2 separate regions of the Homo sapiens genome follow, and region 2 is linked to region 1. The links are contacts of gene promoters, found by promoter capture Hi-C in human tissues and cell types (Jung and others, 2019). All regions are on one chromosome and are shown on one strand. Each heading gives the region's core, a stretch centred on a gene start or on the middle of the fragment in contact. The rest is flanking DNA. Distances are from core to core; before and after follow the strand shown. Region 1 holds the start of DCSTAMP (dendrocyte expressed seven transmembrane protein). Region 2 overlaps DPYS (dihydropyrimidinase).

Region 1 (5,873 bases), core at 1,043-3,542:
TTGCCCAAAGATTTCTAACTGTTTTATTCCCCTCTCTTGTGCTTACAGAGTCCCTCCCTCTGCCTCTCCATCGTTTTTTTCTGGCAGCATCTAAAAGTTTACCTGATCCCTTTAACCTGTAATTTCTCTTTATTTTGCCTCCATTGTCAATAATGTCTATTCCTGACTCAACATGCTTGTGTCCCCAGGATACAATACCTGTTTCTGGCTTTTACCAACAGCACTATCCCTAGAGTAATGGCCACTCTCTTGCTTTTATCTCAGAACTGCAGTTTCTACCACACCTCAGGCAGGGAAGCCTTAGCAGTCCACAGCAGAGTACCACCAAGGGCCCCATCTCTCTTTCATGGGGTTAAAGCCCTTTTTGTGGCTGAGTGGAAGGGAACAGGAAAATAGCAGAACAGGGTTAGGGATGAAGAGCCCTGATTTGAGCTGAGAGCCCTGCAGAGCCATGCAGTCTGTGCATCTGGCTTGAGCCCACATTTACCTGCTTTCATGCAGGGCCAAGCTGTTGCCATGGGAAACAGAAACAGCCAGACTTCCACATCAACCCTGCCCATGCTAGCTAGCAGACACCTCTGCAAGGTACATACACCTCAATCGTTTTCCCTGCATGGGATCTCAGTGTCAGTGGGAGCATTGAGAGCCCCAGCATGGAGGGCACAGGGCTCACAGCCCCCACCCACAGAGCTCTGTTTGGCCACCTTTTTGATGAGTGAAGGAGACCGGCATTCCTGAGCACTGTCTTTTGAGCACAGATCAACTTTCAAGGTGCAGATGAATGTGTCCTTGCTTCAGATACAAGGTCCAGTCAGAAGCTACAAAAAATGGAGCCATGAAATAATAATGAGAATCTCCACATGAATGGCCCACCCTAGGAGCTTTCTAGACTGGAGGGGTATTGAAGCTGCACATCACCCATGTGTCTCCAGAGCTGGTAAGCAGAAACCCACAGGCTTACTGCTATTGAAAGTGTGGGAGGAAGAAATGTGACCTTCTCTGGAGGAAAGGCCAGGAGACAATGACCTTGGGAGCATCTTATTGCTCCCCTCTCTCCCCATTTCCAAAGCTCCTGCCTCATCTGATGTCCTGCAATTCCCATTAAGTGACACCAGTTCATTCTGACTCTGCCTGTGCAGAAGCCAATGGCTTATGCTCAACAAGCCCAGATATAGTCTGCAGACACCCCAGGGGACAATAAACCCAAACGGACAAGCACTCTGTTCTTTCTGTACTCCTCAACCAGCCCTGCCGGTCCCCTGCGGGAACCCAGTCTGAACCCATCAGCCTCCCTCACTGGCTTGATGTGAATCTCATTTTAAAAGGAATTTGATCAAAGGACAGAGCAGAACAGGAAAAGAGCGCCAAACGGAGACCTGTGGTCCAACCTGCCTCTACCCAAGCCAGGTTGCGTGGCCTTGGATAGGTCATGTCACCTCCTGGACCTCAGCTCCTATGGGCTAGCTGAGTTCTAAGGTCCCCACTAGCCCCATGCTCTCTGAAATGAAAGGTGCAGTGAGCAGCGGAGCTGGTTCTTGGAGCTGGCGTTCTGCAGTCACTTCTGAGACAGAACATCAAAGCCCAGCACCTGGGAGTGGAACAAAAGAAGAATGGAGGGTTTCTTTTCCTTTTCCTTTTTTCTCCCTTTCTTTTTTGTATAAGCTCTTGCAAACTTACAATGTGGTTCAGAATGTACTGTTCTCTCAGACTGCCAAAATAGCTTGAGCAGGAGCTGCGGCCTTCATTTGAGGTAGAGAGAACTCCTCATGACTTTGTTTTCATTGTTCTTGCCTTGGGAAAGCCAGCAAATGCCTTCCTCTGTGAAAGCAGCCTTCACACAAGAAAGGAAAGATTAATGAACGCTACTAGGTAAACAGAATAGCATTTACGGAACAATTCAGCCCATTGCTGCGTGTGCCAGGTGCCGGGAGCTGCATCGTTGGCCAGGCAGGACTGAGCCAGCCTAGGGCTCCCCATAACCACCAGGAGGATTAGCTGAGGGGATTCATAAAGTGAAGGGTGGCTCGCGTATACCCAGGCTACACCCATAAGAAGATATTCATGCTGCAGTTTTCCCTGAGCAGAGGATATTCAGATACCAACATGAAAAGACTTTCTGATACTTCCATACATAGGGAGACTGTCGGGGTATAGGGGGCCTTAAAGTATGCTCTGGTCACAATTGTTTATTCCAATTTACTAGTACTTTTTTAAAAGCAATTTTAGAAATAAGATTATTCTGAAAGTTTACTTACAGGTTTCTCTCAGATTCTTCTTCGAATGCAGAAATGCACTTCCCAAGGGCTGTAGGTCTTGATATATAGCAGGAAAAAGGGAACCAGAAGTGTCGAGAGGGTCACATCACCATGAATCAACCTCTTTATTTCCCCCATAAAGTGACTGAGCCATTTAATATCAACAAAGAGTAATGCTGATACAAATGAATAGCATATTTCTTTCTAGCATTTTCCTCAGAATAGATGTTCTAGAAATTAATTATAGAAAATAATGAAATCAGATATTTTCAAACACAAGAGAGTGAGTTGTGAAAGCTTGGACGGCCTCTCTCCCTCTTTTCTCTTTTGCCCTCACTCCCATACTCCCCACATCCACTCGAGCCATTGGGAAATGACAAGCATCCGCCATACCCACCTCTCATCCACACTTGAAGAGGCAGATGGTTCGTAGGAGCCGCCTCTGCACTCATGACCCCAGACAGGTCGAATAATTGGTTTCATGCCTCCCACTCATACATGTGACTTTCCATCTTAGAAATTTAGCTTCCAAGTCAAAAGGACCAGCTTGTGTAGTTTCGGAGAGTTAGGAAAGTCTCAAAATCTTTCTACAAAATTATTCTTTACTTTTTGTTGGAGACCCCTATTATACCTGCAAAAACCTTTATCTTAAAAAAAAAAAAAGGATCAGAATAGACCCTTGGGCTCAGGCTGGGCACACAGACTGCATGTCCCTCATGAGTCCTTTGTGTAAGGGGCTGACTTAGTCCTGAAGATGAAGAGAGCTGTTGAAATGAGATGTTTTCATTTGAACAGGAAGGATGGGACTGCAATGTGGGTGTCTGATTGAGTCATCCAGAAGCAGCCATGGTGGCCCCAAGGGAGGGAAGGGTCAGGGAGTGGGCAGGATCTTGAGGAAACGGCCCCAGACTTTGGTGAGTGGGAAGTCACTGGTGTTTCTGGAAGAGCCATTTAGGCAGGGGCCTAGGGGTGGGCACCACTCTTCAGTGGGCTGGAGCGTGAACTGGAGTGGGAGGAGGGGAGGAGCAAGCCAACCGGCTGGACTGGATGGGGTTCCTTTGTAGTAGTGCTAGGGATGGAAATGGAGAGGGAGAAGGCAGCAGTAGAGAGGTAGTGGTTTGAGTTTGGGGAAAACTAGATGAAATTTAGCATATCAGCCTCACAAAGAAGAATAAAGATAAGAGAGAGATGTTGGTACTCCCTGAGGAGGGAGGGAGGAAAGCTGAGGGCAGTTGCAACTTTCTTGGGGAAGGAGGAGATGGAGCCTTCTGAGAACGGGGGATGGAGACAGAAGTTGCTGGATCATGGAGAACAAACCTGGGGGCAGCTGCAGAAGAAAGAACTGGGAAGAGGAAATGGAGGGGCTCCCAGCTCCCACAACCAAAAATGGAGTCAGTGACATGGTTTTGAGAGTCCCCAGCAATTCCCAACTTGGGAGTGAAAGAAAAAGGCTGATTTGACAATACCTATACAAATTTATAAGCTACTAGAATTAGTCATTCCAAGAATTTATCTTATATTTGCATGGTATGTGTGTGCAGTGTGTATGTGTATGTGTACGTGTGTGTACAAATCCACCATATGCCTCTCTATGCCAGCTGGATAGCTAGATACACAGATCAGCATTGATTGTAATAGAGAATATGTAGAACAACCCACATGTCTATCAATTGGGAATTGGTTACATAAGTGTTCATATCTCCAGTAAAATGACTTATTCCCATAATGTATCCTTCTTCCAACTGAAATGGTCTTCCCTTCCTCTCCTTCCTTCGGGAAGCCTTCACAGGATATCTCATATCTTCCTGATTACTCCCTTAGTAGATGCTAAGGTATTCCCCACCATATCAGTTTTCATTCTCTTTTACCACCCTGCAGTGGTAGATCCCAATTAATGACCTCTCTGTATGCATGACCTTTGCCTTGTAACTTTGTAGTTCCCACCCAATTTGAATCTGGGCTTAACCATGTGGCCCGGTTTGGCCAGGAGGTAGGTAGTAAACTTGATACACGAAAGAAAGAAAGAAAAAGAAAGAAGAAAGAAAGAAAGAAGAAAGAAAGAAAGAAGAAAGAAAGAAAGAAAAAGAAAGAAAGAAAGAAAGAAGGAAAGAAAGAGAAAGAAAGAAAGAGAAAGAAAGAGAGAGAGAGAAAGAGAGAGAGAGAAAGGGAGAAAGAGAAAAAGAAAGAAAGAAAGGGAGAGGCCAATTGGGTTTAAAACTCAGAGACCCCTACAAATTGGTGCAACTTAAGGTGGAGGGGCTGTGATATAGGCAGATGAGATTCAGCTGGTGCTGCAAGATTTCTTTCCTGCACTCCTAGAGAACTCAGAGAATGGAAAAGCTATGCTCAGCTGGGAATTTTAACCTGATCAGCTCAAATGTTGTTTAATTACTTTGAAAGTCTGTAGTTAGTGAGCTGGACTCTTTGAGTATCCACCTGCACTTCTCAGAAGAATAGCCTCAGAACAGCAATGGTTGGTTAAGAGGGCCTGAGAAACAGGAATCATCCTGATTTTAACGCCAACGCCATTGACCAAATGAAGTCAGGGCCTGAACTTCCAGGACATCTCTGGGATTCTGCCTCAGGGGCCCAGCAAGGAGTAGTCACTGCTGAAATTACTGTATGACCCTAAGGTCAGGAGCATCTTCTGTTCTTTCTCTTGCCATCAAGGAATCTCTGTCCTGCAGAGGTGGTTTTAGGTTTGATGAGTCACAGAAGCACAGATAACACTAGGCTCACTTCAGACCCATGACTCACCCAGCCCAGGAACTCCTCTAGAAAACCAGCATAGAGAGAGGGTGTTTTGTGAAGCAGCATGGCCTGACATAGACAAGACTTGTCGCTTTGTCCCTTTAGTAGCTTTTAACCCCTTAAAAATTGCTATGGCCAGGTGTAGTAACTCACACCTGTAATCCCAGCACTTTGTGAGGCCAAGGTAAGAGGATCCCTTCAGCCCAGGAGTTTGAGACCAGCCTGGGAAACACAGTGAGACCACATCTCTATTTTTAAAATAATTGTTACAGTCTTTCCTGAATAACCTACTAGAGGTAATAAGTTTCACATGTTGAATGAAGAATGTGAGAATTCTATTCTATGAGTCCAGCTGTGCTTTCTCTGCCCTAAAGCACTCTCCTTTTCATTTCAGAGTGATGTTCCCAGGTGTGTTCTTCTGAGACCATCAGTTATATCCTTCACAATGATAGATCTTGACCATTTCTGCTATTTCTATAATGAAATCTTTTAGTGTTTTGCACTCACTTCTGTACTGAAGCTGCTTCCCCGCCTTGGCCTTTGTGTTCTCCCCAGGATGGGAAAAGCTCCATCTGCTTTTTTCTGCCATCCAAGACCACTTTTCAAGCACGGCTGTGCACCAAGCCCTGTACAAGGTCCCTGGGCTCCCCTGATGAAAGAGGAGAGATTGCAGAAGCTCATGTCTGGCTGTTAAGACAGATACACACATAAAAAAGTCTACACAGAGGGAAGATAAAGTTACATAGAAAGGCCTGAGGGAGATGCAAGGAGGATTCCTGAATGCTCTCAGCGAAAGAAGGTGGGTCAAGGGAGAGCCAAGAGAAGCCAGAGGGAAGGAGCATGAGTAAAGGCACAGAACTCTGCAAG
Region 2 (5,873 bases), core at 1,434-3,933, 42 kb before region 1:
AGGGGGCTTAAGATAGAGCTCTGGGCCCACCAACCTTCAGAGGTGGAGGAGAAGAGCAAGCATCAGTGGAGTCTGAGAAGGCTGACCAGTGATGCAGGAAGACCATCAGGAGAACATGGAGTCCCAGAAGGCGAGAAAAGAAACCTGCTGTCTTTGTTCAATCCAGAGTACTCTGTTTCCTCATCCTGGTTTTTCTATGTGTTTTATGCTGCATAAATGTCCTGTAAGAATTAGGTATGCTTTTAGCCAGGAGAATAGGGATGGAGTCTTTATTATCACCATATTCATCTGGGATGCCAGAGAAAGAGGCTCACTTTATTTTGACCCTGACTGCTAGTGTCAACTACATGCATTAAGCAATGGCTCTGCCATATGCTGGGGTCTGTGTCAGGCTGGGCAGTTCCTACTTCGGACAGAGGTTTGCCATCATCATTAGAGAGAAGGAATAAGACAAGGATTGCTAAGAGTTGGAGGTTAAGTCTACTTAGAAAACAAATGTGCAGCTGAACTTCTGAATAACAGCAGTGATGGTTTCAGATTCTGCAGAAGGAGTGCCATCACTTTTCCATTTTGTCACAGTGAACATCTAGTGATGTCCTAAAACATGCCCAGAGAACAATGCCAGAAGTGACAGACAGCACAAAGATGAAGAAGGCATGAGTCTAGCCATCATAGAGCTTATGTAACCCAATTCTAAGGATGAGCAAATATTAAAAGGTTAAAAGGGCTGAGAGGCTTGAGAGTAGAACTTAAGTTGTCTTTGATTTCTGTCAACTTATCTATCAAAAGGAAAGACTGTGGAGAGTGAGACAGCACAGGACTCCTGACAGGAGGCTGCTTGTTTCTGAGGTGGCCGTGCACGCAGGTGTGGCTCCCATCCATGGCCATTCTGAGAGGAAAGCAGACCTGGCCCACCCAGAGCCTCAGAGGCAGGCAAGAGAGAGAGAGGGTGCAGGTTAGACCCAGCCAGTCGGGTCAGAGACATGTGATGGTCAGCGTGACCAGGGTGACAAGCCAGACATGGCTGGCTCCATGACTGAACAGCCAGAAAGCAGTTTGTAGACAGCCAGCCACAGAAAAAGTACAGCCCAGGCCAGGCTCAGTGGCTCACGCCTGTAATCCCAGCACTTTGGGAAACTGAGGCAGGTGGATGACTTGAGGTCAGGAGTTCAAGACCAGCCTGGCCAAGATGGCGAAATCCCGTCTCTACTAAAAATACAAAAATTAGCTGGCCATGGTGGTGTGTGCCTGTAATTCCAGCTACTTGGGCGGCTGAGATATGAGAATCGTGTGCACATAGGAGGTGGAGTTTGCAGTGAGCCAACATTGTGCCACTGTGCTCCAGCTTGGGTGATGGAGTGAAACTCTGTCTCGAAAAAAAAAAAAAAGTACAGCCTGGAGAACAGATAAATGATGCAGCACAACAAAAGAGCCTGACAGAAACGGAGTCAGCCCACGCCAGGCCAAACCACAAAAAGAAGAAAGCAGGCTTAGATGGGAAGCCCCCTTCATAGCTCCCTCCCCAAAAATCCCTTCTACCCATATCTATTGAGTGCTTGTTATGAAGAAAGAGAGCAGCACACCGGCCCTCTGTCTGCTGGGGGAGACTGACGAGTGAACAGATTATTCCAGAAACCTGGGGTAAGCAAGATAGTGGATAGGGGACAGAGGGCCAAAGCTTCCTAGACTGATGATTAGCTGAGCTGAGTGATAAAAGAGAAGTCAGATAATTACACAAAAATGAAAGCGGCAGCCCAGCCCATGCAAAAGCATGGCCCTGACCGGAAGCTACCAGGAAGGATTCTGATGTGCCTGGCCTGGGTGGTGCCTGCTCCCAGAGCCTGCAAGCTGGGTTCTGGGGAAGCATCCTCTAGGTGATAGAGCAGGCTGTAGAGCAAGCCCTGTTCTGAGTGAGGAGGACAGGCCCTGTGTGTGATGGCCCCACCTGAGCCACTGGCATGGGCAGTCAGTTCCCAAGACGGAGTCCAGGACAGACAAAAAATGAACAGCTGAAAAGTGCAAGTAGTGTAGGTTCAAGGAAGTGGTGTAGGAAGAGGGAGACGGAATGGGATCTGAGGAGGGCTGCACAGCACACAGTAGGCGGCACAAAAGTCTGCTCAGTTAGGTCACATGCTCCAGAGGCACTCACTGCAAAAGAGCCTGAAGATTGAACTGAAATATACCATCGGCTTTGCTGAGTATGAATGCCAAGAGGAGCAGAGAGAAGTCAAGCCCTCTAGGTGATAGGCAGGAACGAGCTGAAAGAAGGACATAAATCTTGGTTTGCTCAGACGGGCCTGGATTATACTTACGTTAATTATGTTTAGTGCCCTTTTCATGCTAAGAAGTGTCCTACTTTGGATGATAAATTGTACAGTCACCCTAGGTTTAAGTGATATTCAGGCAGTCTGGCTTGGAAAGTCAAGTCAGGAGAAGAAAAAAAAAAAAAAAAAACAGGGACCAAGGACCTGAAAGGGAGGATGTGGCCAGAGAGTGGGGTATTAGTGAGTTTAAGGTTTCAGATGTGGTGGTCCAAGGTGGTAGAAATGGGAGGCTGGCCCTTCATTTCCTGGTGTCTGTGTTCCTCAAGATGAGAACAGGGCTCAAAGACTGAGTAGACAGTGAGCCAAAATGGAAGTCCAGCAAAGCATTTAGACAGATACAGAAAGTGAGCAGAGGCTTGGCCTGGTGAGGGAAGGGCAGGAGTCCCCCCATTTCCTGAGCACTCAGTGCACACCCGATGCAGTGCTTCAAGTTCTGTGGCTGCAGGAGCTGTGGGCCTTGTTCTGTGTTGGATCCTCGGTGTTTGGTGTACTCTCTGGGGCTGTGTGAGCTCAGTAAATATCTGCTGAATGAATGAAGAAAATGCTTTGGCTCTGGAAATTCTCCACTATCTGAGAGATAGGTTTATTTCCCCCATTTCATGGATGAGGAAGTAGGCCTGGAGGCATTAATTAACTTGTCAGTTTCCTATGCGTAGTAAATGGCAAATGGAGAATTCTAACTTAGATCTGTCTCACTTCAAAGGTCACACTGTTGATCACTACAATGTATTAGTTTGGGTGGTCAAAATGAGACCCACAATAATTTGTTATTTGTCTGTGTGTATGTGTGTGTGTGTGTGTGTGTGTGTGTGTGTGATTTCAAAACTCTGCTCAAGCACTGACAGCTCTCGCTGAATCCAGCAGAGGGTTCTGCTGCATAGTCGGTCACCAACGAGGTGAGATTCTGTGGAAGATCCATAATGCACAGAGACAGGAAAGTGGAAAGCGTACCCAATTGCTAGAATCTGAAGCAACTGCTCTGAGAGTGTTAGGAGAGGTACAAAGAAGCACTGCAAACTCAGGTGAGTAGGACTGAAACTAGAAGAAAAGGTCGGATGTTGGAAAGGACAGCAGGAGACAGTTGTGGGACTCAGAAGGGCGTGAGGATATGGCAGAGGCCCCAGTGAGTGTCCCTGGGCCTCTGTCTGAGGCAGATTAATACCCACAAAAAGTGGGACAATCCAGATTCTCAAGGTTGCCAGGAATTTCCGTGAAAGGCCAAGGGGATGGGGAGGCACGTGATAAATTTATAAGATTCTTTTTTTAAAGCTCTCGCAATTCATAAAGGGAGCTACACTTAACTTTGAACTCAAGAAAATAAACCACAAGAGAGAAATGAAATGTTCTCTTTCAGACTTGCACACCTACCCCTGTGGAGCGTGCACCCTATAAGGGAGAAGTCGCCACACTGAAATCCAGAGTGACAAAAGAAGATGCCACAGCAGGGACCAGGAAACAGGCCCACCCCTGAAGTGTGTGCCATCGGTAAGGGACTGTAGGCAAGAAAAGTCTTCCTGCATGACAGCATATGAAATTAGCATCTCTCCTCATAAGGGTTGAAGAGATCAAGGTCAGAGGCTTCACAGTGATCCAAGACTCAAGGACAATTGAGCCAAGGGAAGATTGATCAAAGCAGAACATTTAGATAAGCCTTCCAGATTGTAGAAGGCCTTGGGCTTGCTAGAGAGTCATTCTTTAAGATGTTAGGAAACATTCAATACAGCCTTGGATAATCAACTATGAGCAAGTTGCACTAAGGAGGCTGATAACATACAGAGGGAACTACTTAAGACAGGGAGTATAATTTCATGGTCAAAATTTACAAATGAATTAGGACCTTATCTGGAGAAATGAATCTTCATATTGTAAATACAACGGTGTTCTAAAATTTAGAATAAATGAAAAATGAATAAAATGTTGCTTTAGGGGATATAATCCTTCAGAAAAATTCTTTGATAGTATCTGATTATTTCACAGTTAGTTTTGGGAATAATATTACAGATACAGTCATTTTTGCAAAAGTATTTGAGCACTTCATCAGTTTTCTCTGTCTTTTGACATGCAGATCTTTCTTTTCTGAAGTGCCTCGTATCATCATCCTTGTCAATTTTCTTTCTTCAGTTGTCTTCTGGTCCTGCTCTCTCAGATCCTCATTTAACAGCGGCTTTGCTGTAATTTTAGCATCTCCCTAATATCACTTCCACTGACTTCATGAAATCTACATGTTTTGCCAGTTTTGCAATTTTGCTAGGCTCTTAATTTTTTTTTAACGTGTGATATCTTTTCAGACAGTTCAACACGTGGCCATCTGCACAAGACTTAACCCCAGAGGTTGACCTAATGGACCTGGTTAGACATTTGTGTTAATGAGAGGCACAGTTTGACAACGGTCTGGTTTTCTACATATTCAGGCACTGCACCTTTTCACATTTTGACAACCTCTTATTCCCTGCATAAATCCTGTTCCTGCAGGGATTTGGATAATGAGGGCTTGAATGGCAAAGCCCTCTGTGCTACATGCCATGTTCTTTCATTATTGAATGTTGTGTCTTTAACAGGACTATCTAGCCCAAAGTCTCAACATTTTTGTCATTTTCAGACGACCAGAATTATTCTTCTAATCTAGGATGATTTTGTTAAAAATTCAGGGAAAGATTAGCAAGAGAAAGGAATGCGATTCAATGCTATAACATGCTATTAATGACATTTATAGGAGCAGGATTAGTGTTTACTTTGATTATAGCATTTCTTGGGGGTTAGGTTTGAATTCTGCATCTCTTTGTGAGGGAGAATGTTACAGTGAGTTCCTTTCATTCTCTTCAAAGGTAAAAAAATCAGAGGAAAGGAGGCTGCCATTCCCTTCACAGCCAAACATTGTCAACCCATGGAGAAGCAGGCCTTATTCAACTCCCTAGGATCCTTTAGAAAAAATTCACCACTATAGGCTTCTTTGATTTTCTTTCAGAAGCAATTGCTGTCTTTCTCACTGTGTTTTTGTTGCTGCATAAGATTGAAGGTATAAATTTATATTATTGTGATGGAAAGGCTGTGTGGAAATTCATTGATGATACTTTAAAATGTCATCTTTGCTTGTACTAGATTTCTTACTTAGAATTTTTAAAAATCATTTTCTTGTTTAAATAGTTTCTTTTTTTAAAAAAATGGTTACATTAGTTTTAAAATAGCTCTGTGATTTTACTTTTTATTGTAATTAATAAACATTGAGATCTTCATTTTATACCTTATTATCTGATTTATTTGTATCTCCTTCTAACTAGTGGGATTGGGATTCTAGGAGGTTGGTTTTCATTTGAGAGCATGAGTCCTGGCCACGTCTCTTCAGCAACTTTTGGAAATCTGGTCTTGGAAAACCCACCTAATCAAATTAGATGCTCAAGTTTAAAATAAGTCCAAGGCAAATTATCCAATCACAATGATGAATTCGAGATTTGAGGGAATTAAATGGAATCAGCATGGCTGAAAGAGGCTGCCTTAATACCTTCCTTCCCCCACACTTCCTAGTCTATGGTATGATCCTTCTGTGTGTGC

What was found. The method cuts DNA at HindIII sites, captures the fragments that hold promoters and counts their contacts. A contact is called where the count stands out against the background at its distance.
Region 2: a contact is called between a fragment that was not itself captured here and the fragment with the promoter of DCSTAMP in region 1, in 1 of the 25 tissues and cell types used here (hippocampus).

What each region holds. Positions count from the first base shown.
Region 1 is chr8:104,336,245-104,342,117 of GRCh38, reverse strand. It overlaps DCSTAMP (dendrocyte expressed seven transmembrane protein), which reads right to left and starts at 2,292. Exons shown (of 4, transcript NM_030788.4): 1 at 2,256-2,292. The HindIII fragment of the contact is 10,500 bases long and covers 1-5,873 here.
Region 2 is chr8:104,379,120-104,384,992 of GRCh38, reverse strand. DPYS (dihydropyrimidinase) reads left to right here. Exons shown (of 10, transcript NM_001385.3): 9 at 3,679-3,809; 10 at 5,150-5,562. The coding sequence ends at 3,795. Among named protein-coding and RNA genes, the nearest start is that of DCSTAMP, 42 kb to the right of the region's middle. The HindIII fragment of the contact is 6,955 bases long and covers 1-5,873 here.